Regions from separate parts of the Homo sapiens genome. Here regions 2, 3, 4, 5, 6 and 7 are each linked to region 1. The links are contacts of gene promoters, found by promoter capture Hi-C in human tissues and cell types (Jung and others, 2019). All regions are on one chromosome and are shown on one strand. Each heading gives the region's core, a stretch centred on a gene start or on the middle of the fragment in contact. The rest is flanking DNA. Distances are from core to core; before and after follow the strand shown.

The links. The method cuts DNA at HindIII sites, captures the fragments that hold promoters and counts their contacts. A contact is called where the count stands out against the background at its distance.
Region 2: a fragment that was not itself captured here is called in contact with the fragment with the promoter of NKX3-2 in region 1 in 1 of the 25 tissues and cell types used here (lymphoblastoid cells).
Region 3: a fragment that was not itself captured here is called in contact with the fragment with the promoter of NKX3-2 in region 1 in 2 of the 25 tissues and cell types used here (dorsolateral prefrontal cortex and lymphoblastoid cells).
Region 4: a contact is called between a fragment that was not itself captured here and the fragment with the promoter of NKX3-2 in region 1, in 4 of the 25 tissues and cell types used here (aorta, lymphoblastoid cells, mesendoderm cells and 1 more).
Region 5: a fragment that was not itself captured here is called in contact with the fragment with the promoter of NKX3-2 in region 1 in 4 of the 25 tissues and cell types used here (H1 embryonic stem cells, dorsolateral prefrontal cortex, lymphoblastoid cells and 1 more).
Region 6: a fragment that was not itself captured here is called in contact with the fragment with the promoter of NKX3-2 in region 1 in 2 of the 25 tissues and cell types used here (lymphoblastoid cells and neural progenitor cells).
Region 7: a contact is called between a fragment that was not itself captured here and the fragment with the promoter of NKX3-2 in region 1, in 4 of the 25 tissues and cell types used here (H1 embryonic stem cells, dorsolateral prefrontal cortex, heart right ventricle and 1 more).

What each region holds. Positions count from the first base shown.
Region 1 is chr4:13,543,053-13,545,835 of GRCh38, reverse strand. NKX3-2 (NK3 homeobox 2) reads left to right here and starts at 1,328. Exons shown (of 2, transcript NM_001189.4): 1 at 1,328-1,887. The coding sequence starts at 1,422. The HindIII fragment of the contact is 14,287 bases long and covers 1-2,783 here.
Region 2 is chr4:12,631,132-12,633,914 of GRCh38, reverse strand. No RefSeq gene overlaps it. Among named protein-coding and RNA genes, the nearest start is that of LINC02270, 410 kb to the right of the region's middle. RefSeq lists an enhancer at 552-611. The HindIII fragment of the contact is 4,665 bases long and covers 1-2,783 here.
Region 3 is chr4:12,686,589-12,689,371 of GRCh38, reverse strand. No RefSeq gene overlaps it. Among named protein-coding and RNA genes, the nearest start is that of LINC02270, 460 kb to the right of the region's middle. The HindIII fragment of the contact is 4,651 bases long and covers 1-2,783 here.
Region 4 is chr4:12,789,816-12,792,598 of GRCh38, reverse strand. No RefSeq gene overlaps it. Among named protein-coding and RNA genes, the nearest start is that of LINC02270, 570 kb to the right of the region's middle. The HindIII fragment of the contact is 5,373 bases long and covers 1-2,783 here.
Region 5 is chr4:12,806,902-12,809,684 of GRCh38, reverse strand. No RefSeq gene overlaps it. Among named protein-coding and RNA genes, the nearest start is that of LINC02270, 580 kb to the right of the region's middle. The HindIII fragment of the contact is 4,363 bases long and covers 1-2,783 here.
Region 6 is chr4:12,830,379-12,833,161 of GRCh38, reverse strand. No RefSeq gene overlaps it. Among named protein-coding and RNA genes, the nearest start is that of LINC02270, 610 kb to the right of the region's middle. The HindIII fragment of the contact is 5,364 bases long and covers 1-2,783 here.
Region 7 is chr4:12,887,132-12,889,914 of GRCh38, reverse strand. LOC105374493 (a long non-coding RNA gene) reads left to right here. Exons shown (of 3, transcript XR_007058047.1): 2 at 1-197. Among named protein-coding and RNA genes, the nearest start is that of RAB28, 600 kb to the left of the region's middle. The HindIII fragment of the contact is 4,723 bases long and covers 1-2,783 here.

The DNA of each region.
Region 1 (2,783 bases), core at 79-2,578:
TCCTAGGTATACTTCTAAGCAAACAAACATATCTATTTATAATTTTATTCAACTCACAAGTAAGAGATATTTAAAAAAAACAAATTGAAAGTTTTTTTTTTCTTCCTGATGCAAAACTTAACAAACTCCAATTAAATTCAATATTGGTCTGCCAGGGAAACGACCATAAAATTTACAGAAATTCTCCCAAAGATGCCTTTCAATTCTTCTCCTGACTTTAGTTCTAACTATACCATTTTTTTATAATTCCTCTATAAAAATCGAATCAAATCAAAGACGACGAGGAAAGAAAAATATTTCTAGAGTGATCTTAATTAACTGATCATTTCAGCAAAGAGCATTAGCAATGAAGAAGCGGCGAAACTGTAGGGAGAAAAAAAAGGATGCATTTTGTTCTTCGTGTTTATAATCCTTCCTAGAGAACAGAAACTACGAGCATGATTTATGGAACTGCATTATCTTGGATTTTCTCCGCAGATTTGACTCAACTTAGTATCAGTGTTCTGTTAAAGCGCTGGAATAAGTGGATACATCTGCAGAGGTAAGAAACGTGGTTTGGGTCGGATGAGCCTCCTTGTTGCTGGAGGGTGCTTCGAGGACCAGGCTTAGGAGAGAAGGGGTTAAGTCAGACCCTGTCTTTAGCGGCGCAACGTGCCCAGTTTTGTCTGTTAAAGTCAACGTCGCCCAACTGGAGCCAGCCAATGGACGGCCGGGAGCGCCCGGGACAGCCCAGTGGAGGGGTGTGGCCTCAGGCTGTCACTCAGCAGTGAGGAATGACACCCGGGCGGGAGGGGGGTGGTACAGTGGAACGCAAGGGAAGGAAAGAGAAAAGAAACAGATAAAACCAGGGCAGGGGGTAAAAAAGTTCCCCGCGCCTCTCGGAATCCAGCGGCCGCGGCCGCGGCTACCGCCGCCGCCGCCGGGGGTGGGCTCCGGAAGAGCCTGCCCAGCAGGGAAGGGGAGGACGGGCCAGGAGCGAAATCCTGCAGGCGAGGAAGGGACAGACGCGCAAAGAAAAAGTGACTCGGGCTGTGCGCCCCGGCGGCGCTCGGGAGGGGACTGCTGCCACGGAGGGGCCCCCGCCAATCCTCCTTCACGTCCCCCGAGGGGGCAGACCCCAGCCCGCCCCTAAGGGCGAGAAGCGATGAGATAATCCAGCTGAGCTGCGAAAGGAGAGCGTCTGGCTCTGGATTCGGGGGGAGGGGGTCTCCGGGCGGGGTGGGCCTCTAAGGTGGGGGCGAGGGTCGGCGCTGATCCTGGGACGGAGTGGGGCGGGAGCTGCTGGGCCGCGCAGCAGTGGGCGGCGGCGGCCTCGCACACCCAGCTCACTCGCGCTGCGGCCGCCGGCGCTCTCTGTCCCGCTCGGAGCTGCTCGGCGCCCCAGCTGCCCGCCCCGCCGGCCGCTCCTGCCCGCGGCGCAGATGGCTGTGCGCGGCGCCAACACCTTGACGTCCTTCTCCATCCAGGCGATCCTCAACAAGAAAGAGGAGCGCGGCGGGCTGGCCGCGCCAGAGGGGCGCCCGGCGCCCGGGGGCACAGCGGCATCGGTGGCCGCGGCTCCCGCTGTCTGCTGTTGGCGGCTCTTTGGGGAGAGGGACGCGGGCGCGTTGGGGGGCGCCGAGGACTCTCTGCTGGCGTCTCCTGCCGGTACCAGAACAGCTGCGGGGCGGACTGCGGAGAGCCCGGAAGGCTGGGACTCGGACTCCGCGCTCAGCGAGGAGAACGAGAGCAGGCGGCGCTGCGCGGACGCGCGGGGGGCCAGCGGGGCCGGCCTTGCGGGGGGATCCTTGAGCCTCGGCCAGCCGGTCTGTGAGCTGGCCGCTTCCAAAGACCTAGAGGAGGAAGCCGCGGGCCGGAGCGACAGCGAGATGTCCGCCAGCGTCTCAGGTCTGCTGCGGCTTCGCGGGGATGGGGGCCGGGCTGAGGGGATGGACGCGGAGGGCAACCACGCCGAGTGGGGTGGTCGGCTTGAGCACCCTGCGCCCTGGGGCTCGGAGGCTGGCCAAATCCCGAAGTTCTGCGCTCTGGCGCGAGCTGCTCTATCACTTCGGGAACTGAGCCCGCGAGAGACCGGAGTAGCTCCTCAGAGCCCTACGTCCTGGGGTGAGGCCTGAGACATCCTGGGCCAATGTGCATTAGACTGGGTTGGGAGAACCGCTGCCCCTTGCGTTCGGGAGTTTTTGAGTTCGTCGCCAGTGCTTTCTGCCGTGTCTGTCCCCAAATCCCCAAAATCAGGGAAGCGGAAAAGTGAGGGGTTCAGAGACCTCAGGTAGCCAGTGACCTAGCTCTGGACCAGAGACCTGCCAGTTCAAGGTCCCAGGGCCGGGCCCCACAGTAGGTGGATAGGTGGTGAAGAACACCTCCGAGTGGGCCAGAGCTGAGAATCTGCAGAACTAGAGCTTTGGGGAAAGGGCTGGTTTGGCTTTCTCAGACCCCAGGTCTGGGAGAGCAGCCCTAGGCCGAAGATCCCGGATTGGGTCTTTAGTTCATCCTGGAGGCAGGAGAGAGGCCTCCTCAGCCGTGGCCTGTCCTGTCCTGTGGTCTGGAAGACCCGGGTGCCTGCCCTAGTTGGGTACAAGCTTCTGTAGGCCTCAAGCACAGGGGACCGCTGGACCTTTCTGCTGGAGTTCTTCGGAAGGGCGGGTACGAGACCGAGAAGCTGGTGTGGGATCAGGGTCCAAAAACTCGATGCAGGGGCAACCCTCCCTCTTTACTCTCCAGTCCATCCTCTCATCTAAGGCCTCGGCTCAGCCTGTTTCCATGTCTCTCACAGCAATCCCAGG
Region 2 (2,783 bases), core at 137-2,636, 910 kb after region 1:
TGCTTAGATATATGTACACACACATACATTATAGTCTAATGTAGATAATGTTTACTGTGAACCTGCTGTGGGGCAGACACTGTGCTCAACATGTATACATACATATATATCTATGTTAGACTACAGTTTTTCTCCATAAATTTATATGTAATTTAGAACAAGGTGACTCGAAAATAATTAGTTTTTGATTGATTTACTTATTCATTTATTTATTCATTCCCTTAAGCACTCATGCATCAAATCTTTGTAGAATACCTGCCATGTGTCAAACCCTGCTCTAGGCAAGAGCGTATACATAGATGAATTATATGGGTCCCCTGCACCGCGTGAGTTAGTTGGCTCCTGGGGAAGGCAGACGTATACAGAGATAATCACAAAGTGAAGGAGGACAAAGCACCATGATGATAATAAAAGTGGAAGACACACAAAGCTCTTCATTTTCAATTTTGTAAAGTAAGAATTACACAGAGGAAAGTGTGAAGGGAAGTGTCACCTGTTATCTATTAATGGTTATAATTATTTGATTATATTTTTACATTGAATGATAATTCAACATAGGACAGTCTCTTCGAGATCACATCGCTGAGTATCATCCCCCAAGGCTTCTTAAATTCAAGGTCTACTGGCACCTATGCGGCAATACACATTGTGGCCTGTAGATGGCAGGCGTCGCTCACTGTTTCGATGGATCTCATCCACACCTGACGGATGATGCAGCCTTAAGCTTTGGGCCAGAGTCGTCTCGCAGGTCTGCCTACCGCTGCTCCACAAGTGCAGAGCTACATATTTATTTACTTCGTTCATCTTAAAATCTTGTGATGTAACACATTTTTCATGTCAGAGATTTTTAATGTTCCTGAACATTTTGTGAGCAGAACTTAATGCTTGTGGGAAGGGCTTCAACTTGAATGACTTTTGATGTTTGGATGTAAATAAAGAATTATTTAAGAAAAAAAAAAAGTCGATATTGTAGAATAATCAAGTAAATTAAAAATAGAGGGCACTAACCCTACGTATAAATGTGCCTGCTAAGCATAGACGCTATTTGCAATACCCCACCACTTCCTTCTCCGAGATCATGGCAATGTTAGCACCTTGGCCCCAGGGCTAGAATTATTTCATCTAAGCAAGAATCTATTGGCTTCCGACTATGTGCAAGACGCTGCATTGGGTGATAAGGGGATATATAGTTGAATAAGCATAAAACCTGGCCTTATAGGACTTATAATTCGGGGGAGACAGCTAACAACAATGCAGAAATTCTAGCAAGTCGCTGTGAGAGTGGAGTTGTGGAGGATATTACACCCAATAATGGGTAGAATAATTGTGGAGAAAATGAAATTAGAGTCAGCTGTGGGGTTACCCAGAGAAACTTCACAGGCAGTTTTGAGGAGAAGGCACCTCAAATATTTTGATCAGTTTAGGCAAAACTATATTTTAAAAGCCCCCTGGAAATATAAATTGCATACCTGTTTTTCTTTTTAAATTTGTGTCCACTTCTTGTAACACATAATTACATGTGATAATAAATGGACTCTGATTTTAGATTTCACAGCCAACAAATCTATATAATCCCCAAATAAATGAGTCTATGTCCTCTGTGCAATTTACTGTGTATCTTGAAATAATTGTGTATTTATATCACATTAAAATAAACCTAATTGGCAACTTTATAATTTTAACATATGCTAATCATTTTTAAAATTGCAAAGTTCAGAAAAATTTAGACACTAATGAAAATAACCTGTAATCTCAACTTCCCAATAAAGCTATGCCTAATATTTCTGTGTTAAACAAAATCTTAATGATTACATAAGAATTCTAATAGCAAAATGTTTATATTTATAAAAATCTAGTAAAATCAGACTAAACTTATTGATGCTTAAAGCTAGTCATGAGCATAATGACATTTTCCTGCCTTGTTAAGAATTGTAAAATCAATGAAAACGATTTACATTTTAAAACTGGAAAAAAAAAACTAGTCTCCGCTTTCGCCTTTAACAGATTTGAGTTTAAACCCCAGCTAAATTGAGCTTTTTATTGCGTAGTAATTTCTCTTTCTGAGGTCCTATTTCCTGTTTTGTAAAATGGAGTTACAATGTCTATCCTTGGTTGTGAGGTTTAAGAAAAGTCATGTGCTAGACCTGGCACATGGCAGGTGCTTAGCTGATATAACTTTTCCCCAACTCTTTATGTCAAGGAAGTTCCTTTTCTCTCTCCTGTTGAGAATCCCTGAGAAGCTTTTAAACAACACCCTAGTCCAGGATTCCTTAGCTGAAGGGCTACGGACCTTTGGGTTCTGATAAATCTTCGTTATGGGAACTATAGGGTGTTTGACAGCATCTGTGTTCCCTATTCAATAGATGCCAGTGGCAACTCCCGTATCTGTGGCAACTTCCCTATTTTTGGCAACCAAAAATGTTTTCAATCATGGCCAAAATCATCTCCCCGGGGCAAAATCTCCTCTGCATGAGAACCACTGCCCTAGTTCTTAACGAATGCCCAAGAAATCGATATCGCTGGATGGGAAAGACTTCTTTCCAGTGTGCCCATGCTGTACACCACAGACTGCACAGCTGCAAGTCTGGTTGACTTGCAGGCACTGCTACCCTTTCCTGCCTTTGCAGTTATCACCTTGGTTCTGGGAAGTCCTGGACACAGCAGCTCGTGTCTTAGCATCTTTTTTTTCCCCAAACATCTTATGGAGTCTATGACACTCTGTTTTGCCGTAAGTCCATTATCTGATTTGCCTTGAGTGAATGCTTCCCTCACTGTATCACAGC
Region 3 (2,783 bases), core at 139-2,638, 860 kb after region 1:
ATCTGTGTGATTTTCCTGTATCCTTCTAATAAATCCTCTTGTCAATTTGTTTGAATTGTGTTGCTCTCTATTGCAACCAGAAATACTGATTAAATATACCAGGTACTTGAAGGTAATTTCTGCTATATTTGTGAAATTTCTACAAGATAGATATTTATTCCATTTATATATGAGGAAAATTAGGTTAAATCACCTGTATCATTTCAAAGTCTATGTTATTTTCACTCCAGCTTTCTGCTTTTCTAATGAGTTTTGGAAGTCCTTTTACTGAAGATAACATAATAAAGGAAGCAGTTGATCACAGGCTAAGATGACTGATTAACCTGAAGCCTTATGGTAGAAAGACAGTAGTTATCAAAATCCACATATTCTATCTACTAACTACTATCTTGAATTCTATCTCTGCTATGCATTTTTACTATCACAGTTCTAATTATTATTATTATTATTTTTTTTTTTTTAGATAGGGTCTGGCTCTATCACCCAGGCTTGAGTGCAGTGGCATGATCTCAAGTAGCTGGGATGACAGGCATGCACCACCACACCTGGCTAATTTTTGTATTTTTAGTAGAAACGGGGTTTCAGTATGTTGCCCATGCTGGTCTTGAACTCCTGGACTCAAGTGATCCACCTGCCTCGGCCTCCCAAAGTACTGGGATTACAGTCATGAGCCACCATGCCCAGTCTACTGTTCTGATTTTGTTTCTTAAAAGATCTTGCCCATAATTTCTTGCAAAAATCTCCTAACTTGTATTCATCCTCATTGTTTTGCTCCTGTTCAGACAATCGTCCATCATGGTCAATCATACTATAATGGAGAATATTTCAGAATAACAGAATTTTTAGAATGCAAATCTGATCAGATCTATTTCCTATGTTGAGAGCATCCAGTGGCTTCCAATGGTTGCAAGATGAAATGTAAATTGCAGTTGTGTTATCTTAGTCCATTTTCTGTTACTGTAACAGAATGCTTTAGGCTAGGTAATTTATAAAGACTGTAACTTTATTTAGCTCATGGTTCTGGAGGCTGGAACATCCATGGACATGGTGGCAGCTTCTGGCTAGGACATTTGTACTGTGTCATAACATGGCAGAAAAGTGGAAGGGCAACTGTACACATGTGAAAGAGACTGTAAGACCAAACAAAGCTTGCTTTTATAACAATCCACTCTTAAGAGAATGAATTTACTCGCAAGAGAACTAAATTACTCCTTATAGAATTTACTCACTCCTGAAATAATGACATTAATTCATTCCCCCTGTTACATGTCCCACATCTCAATACTGTTACCTATCTGATTCAGGGCAGGTCAGTAAGAATTCTTTCCAAGAGTTTTTCATACTGGAGCTACAAGAGAAGAGACATTTCCATTGATATAATGACATCATGTCAGTGTGAGCCTGGAAGTTGTTTATGACCACATATGCCTTGCTATATGGAAAAGCCAGCCTGTGGTAGGGGAATATGAAATCAGCATACCCCAAAAAAGAAGAAAAAAAAGTTCATATGTTTCCAACATATTACATTTTGGGGGACACATTCAAACCACACCATGCGTGTACTTAGGTGTCCACTAGATTCTCTCTGCCCCTTGAGATTGAGATAATAACACCTGTGCTCTCAAGGTAAAGGAAGCTTGAGAATTGCTAGAAAAATCAGAGCATTTGGGTCTGTGTAGATAACTGTAGAAATAATTTCTGTGTAGAAATAACTATGTGACATGGTTATTTCTATGCCATCCTCTTCTTTCTCTATACTGTCTCTTTTTTCATGCAGTCTCTGGTACTGCATGTGAGAAGAGTGTCAACTCAGCCTCTACCTTGGTTTTTACAAACACAAACAATACCTACTATCATAAAAATGCATGAGAGGAGTAGAATTTGTTGAAAAATGGGTTCACATACACACACACCCCTCTACCCCAAGACAAGTAATATAAAAATCTAATAGATATATTAGTTTTCTTTTTTTTTTTTTTTTTTTTTTGAGATGGAGTCTCACTCTGTCCCCCAGGCTAGAGTGAGGTGGTGCAATCTCAGCTCACTGCAAGCTCCGCCTTCCAGGTTCATGCCGTTATCCTGCCTCTGCCTCCGGAGTAGCTGGGACTACAGGAGCATGCCACCACACCCGGCTAATGGCTGGATTGCAGTAGTACAATCTCAGCTTACTTCAACCTCTGCTTCCCGGGTTCAAGCAATTCTCCTGTCTCAGCCTCCCAAGTAGCTGGAATCACAGGCACACGCCACCACACCCTGCTAATTTTTGTATTGTTAGTAGAGATGGGATTTCACCATATTGGTCAGGCTGGTCTTGAACTCCTGACCTCCGCCTGCTTCAGCCTCCCAAAGTGCTGGGATTATAGGTGTGAGCCATTGCGCCCGGCCCTATGGTCAATAACTTTTTGCTAGTAAGTTGAAATCAACCATGGTGGAGAAATTTACACCAAATAAATCTTCAAATTCTGTAAATCATCCTTTTTTCCCTCCCGTAGAGCAATTGCTAAACATTTACTGGATCACCAGGGATATAAGGGAAATAGTGATGAAAATATCATCTATTTTATTATTATTATTTTTTAGAGGCAGGGCTCTTGCTTTGTCACCCAGGCTGGAATTGTAGCTCACTGCTGCTTTGAATTCCTGGGCTCAGTGATCCTCCAGCCTTAGCCCTCCAAGGAGCTGGGATTACAGGTGTGCACTACCATGCCCAGCTAAATTTTTATTTGTTTGTAGAGATGAGGGTCTTGTTATCTTCCCCAGGCTGGTCTCAAACTCCTGAACTC
Region 4 (2,783 bases), core at 145-2,644, 750 kb after region 1:
TAAACATGTGCCATGGTGGTGTGCTGCACCCATCAACCCATCACCCATGTATTAAGCCCAACCTGCATTAGGTATTTTTCCTAATACTCTCCCTCCCCCGACTCCACCCAACAAGAGGCCCCAGTGTGTGCTGTTCCCCACCATGTGTCCATATGTTCTCATTGTTCAGCTCCCACTTATAAGTGAGAACATGCAGTGCCTGGTTCTTTGTTCCTGCATTAGTTTGCTGAGGATAATGGCTTCCAGACCCATCCATGTCTCTGCAAAGGACATGATCTCATCCCTTTTTATGGCTGCATATTATTCCATGGTGTATATGTGCCACTTTTTCTTTATCCAGTCTATCTAGTATTGATGGGTATTTGGGTTGATTCCATGTCTTTGCTATTGTGAATAGGGAGCACTTTTATTCTAATCAAACTGGAATGACTCAGAAAGATTGCTTAAGTGATTGGATGATAATAAGCTAACACTGAAAAAGACTTAATAGTTAATTTAGTCCAAAAATTGCACATGGAGGTTTAGGAGGAAAACTCAATTACTCATAGTATTGAACAGCCAAGTGAAAAATCTTGAGCGAGCCTAGAAGGCCTAGGTGGTCCAGCTCCTGCCCCATCTCCAGCCTCTCGCCATCATCGCCCGAGTCTCTGCCGTCTTCCCGCCATGCTCTTCCCTCAGTGGTTTGAACAGATATCATCTACCATGAGAGGCTCCTGTGAATATCTCATCTTCCTCCTGGGCCCCTTCTCAAATATGACCTAGTAATCGTCAAGCGTCATCTTTATTCCTTCTCCCTCTCTCCCTTCTCTGAGTCTATAAATAGTTCTTGAGTTCCTGCGTGCTTGGCACAGTTCCCAGTTTGGGGGACACAATGGTAAGCAAAAATAGACAAAGCGATGTCCTCATGGATCTTAGAGCATATTTGTGTAATTACACACATACTGTCTGCTTATTCTCCTAGACTGAAATTCTATGAGAACAGGAAAGAGGGGCAATATCTGTTTATTTTTTTCACCAAAGAATTAACATGCTAATTGCTCTAAGTTCCTTTTGAGCCACATTTTTGCTACCTCCTGTGTCTCTTTCAACATGCCTTCCTGTTGAGACTTTTTTAAAAAATTCTTTTTCTGGTAAGCTGCTGTATGGCTCATGTCTCTCAGAAGTCCTTTCAGGTACCTCTGGCCATGCTGTTGCATCAGAAAGTGTGGGCCCAAATTCCTCTACTCTCCTCTGCAATTTCAATTTGGGGAAATTTTGACTAACTTCTGCATTGCCAAGTGAGCTCTGCAGGAGACTGGAATTTTGTGAGGAAGAAGAGCCAGTGTGGCTGGAGAAGCTGAAAACAGGATTTTCTGGAAAGAGCATAGGACACTTGGAGAAAATGGTGAGGATAAAGAGAAAGAATTCAGAAAAAATTTTCCATATAAAATCTGGTTTTATGGGTAAAATGGTAGTTCCTTTTTTAGCTCTTTGAAGAATCACCATACCGCTTTCCACAATGGTTCAACTAATTTACAATTCTACCAACAGTGTACAAGTGTTCTCTTTTCTTTGCAACATGAGGAATATAAGTCATTCTACCATAAAGACACATGCATGCAAATGTTCATTGCAGCACTGTTCACAATAGCAAAGACATGTCATCAACCTAAATGTCCATCAATGACAGATTGAATACAGCAAATGTGACGCATATACACCTTGGAATACTATGCAGCCATAAAAAAGAATGAGGTTATGTCCTTTGCAGGGACATGGGTGGAGCTGGAGGTCATCATCCTTAGCAAATTAACACGGGAACAGAAAACTAAATAATTCATGTTCTCACTTGTACATGGGAGCTAAATGATGAGAAGTCATGAACACAAAGAAGAGAACAACAGACACTGGCGTCTACTTTAGGGTGGAGGGTGGGAGAAGGGAGAGTAGCAGGAAAAATAATTATTGGGTACAAGGCTTAATATCTGGATGATGAAATAAACTGTAAAACAAAACCTTGTGACACAAGTTTACCTATATATTAATAACAAACCTTCACATGTACAACTGAACCTAAAATAAAAGTGTAAAAGTGTTGAAAAAATTCTGATTTGTATTAACGGGTAAAATGTTTGTGTCCTTCCAAAATTCATGTGTTGAAGTCCTAAGCCCCAGTGTGACAGTATTTGGAGGCAAAATGTGATAGTTAATTTTATGCATCAACTTGACTGGACTAAGGAATACCCCAATAGCTACCAAAGGATTACTTCTGGGTGTTTCTGGAAAAAATTAGCATTTGAATCTGGAGACTGAATAAAAAAGATCACCCTTACCAATGTGAGTAGGCGTGATCCAACCTGTTGAAGTCTGAATAGAATAAAAAGATGAACAAAGGGCAAATTTGTTTCTGTTTGATCTGAGACATCATCTCCTGCCGTCAGATACCAGCTCTCCTGATTCCCAGGCCTTTGGGCTCACACTGAATAATATTGTTGGCTTTTCTGGTTCTTCAGCTTGCAGAGGTCAGATGGTGGGACTCTTTGGCCTCCATAATAATTTGAGCCAATTCCTATAATATTATAATATGTATGTATGTATGTATGTATGTCTCCATCTATCTATCTATTTACTATTTATTCTGTTTTTCTGGAGAACACTGACTGATACATGGGACCTATAGTAGGTAATGAGATTTAGATTAGGTCGTGAGGGTGGGACCCCCATGGTGGAGTTAGTGCCCTTATAAGAATAATGAGAAGAAAGAGATCTCTCTCCAGCTTTACACACAAACACCGAGGAAAGAC
Region 5 (2,783 bases), core at 97-2,596, 740 kb after region 1:
CCATGGGGAAAGGATTCCTTATTTAATAAATGGTGTTGGGAAAACTGGCTAGCCATATGCAGAAAACTGAAACTCGATCCCTTCCTTACACCTGATACAAAAATTAACTCAAGATGGATTAAAGAAGGACTTAAACCATAAAAATTCTAGAAGAAAACCTAGGCAATACCATTCAGGACATAGGTATGGGCAAAGACTTAATGAGTAAAACACCAAAAGCAACGGCAACAAAAGCCAAAATTGACAGATGGAATCTAATTAAACTAAAGAGCTTATGCACAGCAAAAGAAACATCATCAGAGAGAACAGGCAACCTACAGAATGGGAGAAAATTTTTGCAATCTATCCATCTGACAAAGCACTAATATCCGGAATCTACAAATAACTTACACAAACTTACAAGAAAAAAAAAAAAACTTTCTTTCTTTCTTTCTTTCTTTCTTTCTTTCTTTCTTTCTTTCTTTCTTTCTTTCTTTCCTTCCTTCTTTCTTTTTCTTTGATTGGCAGGTAACATTGTACGTATTTGCCATGTACAACATAATGTTTTGAAGTATGTAGACATTATGTAATAGCTAAATCTAGCTAATTAACATATGCATTATCTCACATAGTTATTATTTTTGTGATGAGAACACTCTACATTCATTCTTCACATTCTTCAATAATACAATATATTGTTAACTATAGTTACCATGTTGTACAATAGATCTCTTGAACTTATTCCTTCTACCTAACTGTAATTTTGTATTCTTTAATCAGCATCTCCTGAACTCTCCCCTCATCCAAACTACCCCAACCCTTGTTAACAATTATTTTACTCTGTACTTCTATGAGCTCAGAACTTTTTAGGTTTCTATTGTTTTAACACACTGAGTCTTAAGGCAGTTTGTTCCAACAATAGCTAAATGATAAGAGTATTTAAAATGTGTCAGGCAATGTGCCAAATGATTTACATATATTATCTTGTGTAACATTTTTGAGTATTTTGACACGCTGATGAAGTAGGTGGTAGAGATTTTTTTTAATTTAACAGTACATTTTCAGATGAGAAAATATGGATCCCAAATGCTTTTTTACTTTCCAACATTACAGAGCTATAAGGAAGTGAAGCTCTAGTATTCAAATGTAGGCAGCCTGTGTCAGATACTCTAAGTACAGAAGAATTTTTGTCAAATTGGTCTTGTCTGTTAGAGATTTTTCTATCTCCAAATTGTCAAGATTGCATGCTGAGAAAAAGAACCAAAAATAAACTATGTTGTAGAAATACAGAACGTTTCAAAATATGTTGTAACAAGAAATTTCTTTTTAATCTTTCTCTCTTCCTACACCACTGACATATACAAAACATCTTAATAAAAATGCTTAAAGTAATGAAATACCAACTTACGTGTTTGCTTACCTTCAGAGTGAAAGTATGCCAGGAAAAACATATGCCTGCTGCTGTGGATGGATATTAGTTACTGGACTTTCAGGATGCCTCCTACTAATTTATTTTCATCACAGGCAGTTTAAATTATATTTCCCTCTCTTTTTCTTAATCATTTAGCACTACTTACAAAAAGTAGAAGAAAAAAGTAAAAGCTTTCACTTCTAAAATTTCAAACATATGGTAAGATTGAGCAGATTATGTGGGGTTGGATGGCAGGGGACCTGAACTCTTGACTTGTTCCTACCACTAAGTAACTATAATTTGCTGGCAAACCTCTACACATCTCAGAGCTTTGATTTTCTTTTCAGTCAAATGGAGTCACTACTAGCTCTGGGAGTCTATAAAACTCACTCACTTATTCATTCCTTCAAAACTCGATTACTATACACTAGCTATGTGTCAGGTACCACACCCCTCATGGATGACAGAAGAAACAAGACAAGCCCTTGCAAGAATTCTCAGTCTGAGAAATAGGGATGGAGCCAATGAGTACATAGTTCCTGAAAAATATAGTAAGTGTTTATTATTCTTTCCTCAAAAGCAATTGTAGCAAAAACAAAAATGGACAAGGGGGAACTAATTAAACTAAAGAACTTCTGTAGAGCAAGAGAAACTATCAACAGAGTAAACAAACAACCAATAGAATGGGAGAAAATATTTGCGAACTATGCATCGAACAAAGGACTGATATCCAGCATCTATAAGAAACTTACACGAATTAACAAGCAAAAAAACCAAATAATCCCATTAAAAAGTGGGCAAAGGACATGAACAGACACTTCCCCAAGGAAGACATACACATGGCAAGCAAACATAGAAACAAATACCCAACATTAGTAATCATTAGATAAATGCAAATTAAAACCATAATGAGATAGATAGTATCTCATACCAGTCAGAATGGCCATTACCGTAAGGTCAAAAAACAACAAATGCTGGCGAGGCTGTAGAGAAAAGGGAAAGCTTATACACTGTTGGTGGAAATGCAAATTAGCTCAGCCACTGTGGAAAGCAGTTTGGAGATTTCTCAAAGAACTTAAAGGAGAACTATCATTCAACGCACTAGTTCCATTGCTGAGTTTATAGCTGATATGGTTTTTGGATATTTGTCCCCTCCATATCTTATGTTGAAATGTAATCCCCATTGTCAGAAGTGGGGCCTAGTAGGAGGTATTTGGATTATGGGAGCAGATCCCTCATGAATGGTTTGGTGCCTTCCTCATAGCAATGAGTGAGTTATTCCTCTGAGTTAATGCAAGATATGGTTGTTTAAAAGGGTGTGCCACCTCCCCCGTCTCTCACTCCCTCTTTTGCTCCCCCCTCGCCTTCCACCATGATTGCAAGCTTTCTGAAG
Region 6 (2,783 bases), core at 211-2,710, 710 kb after region 1:
GAAAAGATACCCAAAAATGTGGAAGCGACTTTGGAACTAACAGGCAGAGGTTGAAACAGTTTGGAGATCTCAAAAGACAGGAAAATGGGGGAAAGTTTGGAACTTCCTAGAGATTCATTGAATGGCTTGGACCAAAAGCCTGATAGTGATATGGACAATAAAGTCCAGGCTGAGGTGTTCTCAGATGGAGATGAGGAAATTGTTGGGAACTGGAGCAAAGGTGACTCTAGTTATGTTTTAGCAAAGATACTGGTAGAATTTTGCTTCTGCCCTAGAGATTTGTGGAACTTTGAACTTGAGAGTGATGATGTAGGGTATCTGGCAGAAGAAACTTCTAAGCAGCAAAGCATTCAAGATGTGACTTGGGTGCTGTTAAAGGCATTCAGTTTTATATGGGAAGCAGAGCATAAAAGTTCAGAAAATTTGCAGCCTGACAATGTGATTGAAAAGAAAAATCAATTTTCTGAGGAGAAATTGAAGCCAGGTGCAGAAATTTGCGTAAGTAACGAGGAGCTGAATGTTAATCCCCAAGACACTGGGGAAAATGTCTCCAGGGCATATGAGAGGTCTTCACAGTGGCCCCTCCCATCACAGGCCCAGAGGCCTAGGAGAAAATGGTATTGTGGGCTAGGCCTAGAGTCTTTGTGCTGTGTGTAGTCTAGGGACTTTGTGCCCTGCGTCCCAGCCATTCCAACCTGACTAAAAGAGGCTAAGGTACAGTTCAGGCTGTTGCTTCAGAGGGTGGAAGCCCCAAGCATTGGCAGCTTCCACATGGTGTTGAGCCTGCCGGTGCACAGAAGTCAAGAATTGAGGTTTGGGAACCTCCACCTAGACTTCAGAAGATGTACAGAAACACCTGGATGTCTAGGCAAAAGTTTGCTGTGGGGGTGGGGCTTTCGTGGGGAACCTCTGCTAGGACAGTGCAGAAGGGAAATGTTGGGTTGGAGCCCCCACACAGAGTCCCTTCTAGGGCACTGCCTAGTAGAGCTGTGAGAAGATGGCTATTGTCCTCCAGACCCCAGGATGGTAGATCCACTGACAGCTTGCACCATGCACCTGGAAAAGCCGCAGACACTCAGTGTAAGCCAGTGAAAGCAGCCAGGAGGGAGGCTGTACCCAGCAAAGCCACAGGTACAGAGCTGCCCAAGACCATAGGAACCCACCTCTTGCATCAGTGTGACCTGGATATGACACCTGGAGTCAAAGGAGATCATTTTAGAGCTTTAAGATTTTACTGCTCTGCTGGATTTTGGACTTGCATGGGGCCTGTAGCCCCTTTGCTTTGTCCAATGTCTCCCATTTGGAATGGCTGTATTTACCCAATGCCTGTACAATACCTATATCTAGTAAGTAACTAACATGCTTTTGATTTTACAGGCTCATAGGCAGAAGGGACTTGCCTTGTCTTGGATGAGACTTTGAACTGTGGACTTTTGAGTTAATGCTGAAATGAGTTAAAACTTTGGGGGACTGTTGGGAAGGCAAGATTGGTTTTGAAATGTGAAGACTTGAAATTTGGGAGGGGCTGGGGGCGGACTGATATGGTTTGGCTGTGTCCCCACTGCGTCCCCCATCTGGAATTCTCATGTGTTGTGGGAGGGACCCGCTGGGAGGTAGTTGAATCACGGGGGTAGGTCTTTCCCATGCTGTTCTCATGACAGTAAGCCTCACGAGATCTGATGGTTATTATAAGGGGGAATTTTCCTGCACAAGCTCTCTCTTTGCTTACTGCCATCCACGTAAGATGTGACTTGCTCTTGCTTACCTTCCACCATGATTGTGAGGCTTCCCCAGCCACATGGAACTGTAAGTCCAATTAAACCTCTTTCTTTTGTAAATTGCCTAGTCTCAGGTATGTCTTTATGAAAACAGACAATACAATGGCTCTGCTCACAATATGGAGAATGGGTTATGTAGTGGGGTATGAGTAAAAGCAGGAAAACTATTTTGTAGATTATTACAACAGTTCATGTGAGAGAAAATGGTGGTTTGGACCAGGAAGCAGCCAGAGAATATTGAGAGAAATAATCAGGTTTGAAATATGCTTTAGAAAAAGAGTCAACCTGATACACTGATGAATTGGATATTACAGAAGACAGGATAGATCCTAGATGTTGGGCCTAAGCAATGGGGCAGATGGTGCTGCCATCAACTAAGACTGAGAAGACTGGCAGGTGTACTGAAAGGGAGAAACCAAGGGAGAATCAAGAGAGAATTGAGTTAATTTTGAGGTGCTTATCAGAAAACCAGATAGAGATACCAAACAGTAGTTGTATATATGAATTTTGGAAATAACTTAGGACTTAAGGAAACATTTTAGATTCCTCCTATGCCAATGGGGTTTAAGGAAAAAGACTGGGTAAACGGGAGAGTAAATGTTGATGAAAGGTGAATGTCCAAGAATGAGTTTACGGTCACAGAGGGGGAAAGGAATCAGCAAAGGGTTGCTTCAGGGAGGTAAAGGGAAAAACCAGAAGCATGGAGTTTCAGTCAAGCCAATAAAGGAGACAATTTCAGGAAGGATGGAGTCATCAACTGTGTCAAATAATGCTATGAGATCAAATTCATTAAAAGTAAAGTCATAGCCACAGAAGTTTGCAATGTAAAGGTGATTTGAAACCTTGCTAATTGAGGTATTGGTGCTGATTGGAGGTTATAGAGGAGAGAATGTAAGGTGAATAAATGGGGACAGTGGCAATTAGCAATGCTTTTAAGACCTTTTGTTATAAAAGAGAGCAGAGAAATAAAGCAACAATGGATAATATATTTCACTGAAACCCATA
Region 7 (2,783 bases), core at 189-2,688, 660 kb after region 1:
AAGTCAGCTGGACCACCCCATGACACAGTCATGGAGGTTCCAGTCTGAATTCAGAGTCAATGATAAGGGAGGCTTCCGTGGCAGAGTGAAAAGCACACACCTGAGAAATGAAAAGAAATGGCAAAGGTCACACGTCTCAGGATGAATTGCACTGTGTGTGACACCCTAGCTGAAATCCTATCCCACAGGACCATCAGGTGAGCAATTAAAGAAAGTGGCTGAAATTGCTTCCATGTTCTTTTTTCTCTTCTAAAAATATCTATGCTGAGACTTTTTCCCCGTGTGTGTGTATACACGTGTGTGTATACACGTGTGTGTATACATGTGTGCAGCTTCCCATGCTTGTGCAGGCCTCTGTGCTAAAGTCGGTGTCTTCATTCAGACTGCACTTCATTATGGTTTTGCTTGATGTCTGCCTCTCTCTTCCATTGCCTTTCTTCTAATTCATGCTCTACATTGCAGCAAGAATGCCATTCCTCTGTTTAATATACTTTCATGGATGCTCATTTGTCTAGACACCTTCTCATGGGACACATTCTGCCTTCTACTTATAACTTATTTATCTGCCTTCTTTTGCACAATGACCACTTCTTCCTTAAAGATCCAGTGTTGACATCATCTCTTCCATTCACGGAGGCTTCCCAACTCTTCCAGGCAGAGTGAGTCATCCATTTCCCTGGGCTCCTCCGGCATCTCATAGAGACTTCTGTTGTGGATTCCCCTGCTCTGTGCCACAATGATGTGTCGACAAGTTTGTCTCTCCCACAGCATACACTGTGGGATTCTTTAAAACAGAGATGGTGTCATGAATTTCTGGTTTGGCAGGTTTGAAAATATTATGCAGAACATTAGTTTTTTTAATAAAAGAAAAATGAATAAACAGAAGGATAAAGCATTAAGCTTAACCTCTATATATACAGAACTCTGTATCTGTAAAAAGAGGATAATAAAGATACCCAGTTGTGGTAGATTAAATGATTAACTGCAATTCTTTACTCTTTCCTTTTGTGCCACATGGGCAGAAGCTTGGGTGTGTTGCTCACTTTGGCAAAGAACATGTGGGTAGACATGAGATGGTGCCAGTTCTAAGCCTGTACCTTAAGAAGAATCACAGTGTCTCTTTACCTCTTTCCTTCTGCCATTACCATGAGAAGCATTCTCTCTGGATACCTGTTCGTATTATCCCTACAGCCTGGAATGCAGTTTGAAGATATGTGCAGAAGAAATGCCCAAGCCGACCCCGGACCTACAGTGAGAAGCAGAACAGCCCAGAGAAGCTCAGCCTAGGGCAACAGAGACAGCCTAGTCAACCTACAGATCTGGGACAATAAATGCTTCTGCTTTTAAGCCACCGAGTTCTGGGAGGTGATTTGTTCCACAGCATTATAGTGGCAATAGCTGATACTTCAACCTCATTTAGTTTTTGTAAGGGCTAGATCTGATAATTCATGTCAAAAGCCCTAGAACGTGGTAAGCACAGATATTAGGATTCACTATTATTAACATTTGATCTTTATTAGCTTATAAAACTAAGTATTTTATGGGAAAGAACAGTTGGAAGAAAAAGCAAGAATCTATTTATCAATTCAATGAGATTCTCATAGCTGAACTTGGCAATTTCTTTGATATTTGCTAAAAGCCTTTCATAGAATGTGAGGCAAGATGATGGGAGGCCTCAGAGGATTCGAATTTAAGCAGAAAGAAAGACAGTCTTGGCACAGTGGCTCTCCAGCATGGGGGGTGCATACCCGCTTCTGTTATCATTGGGATGATCCACCAGCTTTCCTATGGCATTTTCATTTTGCAAAGCATTTCATTTAACAATCCCTCACTTAACCACTCCTTGGAGCCAATCTGTACACAAAAATAGACAGTTACTTCCTAGAGACTGCGAAAAAGTGAGACTTCTAAAGCTTTAGCCAGTAGCCTCTCTTTGTTCATTGAGGGGTCCCATAGTCCCATCTTCACCCCAAACTGCCCTTCTAATCTCGAGGCTAAGATGTCTAATTGCTCCCAGATATCCACGACATGAGGTCCCAGACTCATGTCACGCTTAAGATGTCAAAAACAGAATCCATCATCTTCTCTCTGTATCTAGGACCTTGGCCTCAAGCTGTGGCTCCAATTGTGTCCTTATCTCAGTACCCAAACCAGAACCTGGTGGCATCCATGACTCCTCTCTCTCATTCTTCCTTTCTCTATTCCTTTCCCCAGGCATCCAAGTTCTAATTATTTCTCAGATCACTCCACCTCACTCCATCATCACTTCTTTCACGTCACCTTTTGCCTGGTTAATAGTAAAAACCTCCCTATTTGTCTCCCTGTCTGAACTTCTCTATCGTTTGCTCTTTCTGCTTTTTTTCATATTACTTATCATTGATCACCATCTTTTTTTTTTACTGTGCATATCTGTCTGTGTGTGTCTGTGTGAGTGTATGTGCATGTGTACGTGCTTTCCTAAGTATACTTCATTCTCCCTATTGGATTGTAAATTCCTTGTCTTTAGGAGTCATGCCTAGAATTTTGTTCACACTCAAGAAAAATTTGATAGACCTAATCAAAATTCAGATTAGATATTTAACCAAGCTCTCTGGATAAATGTTTCTACTCCTCCATTCCCATTCGTATTGGTCCATTCTCACACTGCTAATAAAGACATTCTTGAAACTGGGCAATTTATAAAGGAAAGAGGTTTAATTGACTCACAGTTCCACATGGCTGGGAAGGCCTCACAATCATGAATGAAGGTGAAGGAGGAACAAAGTCATGTCTTACATGGTGGC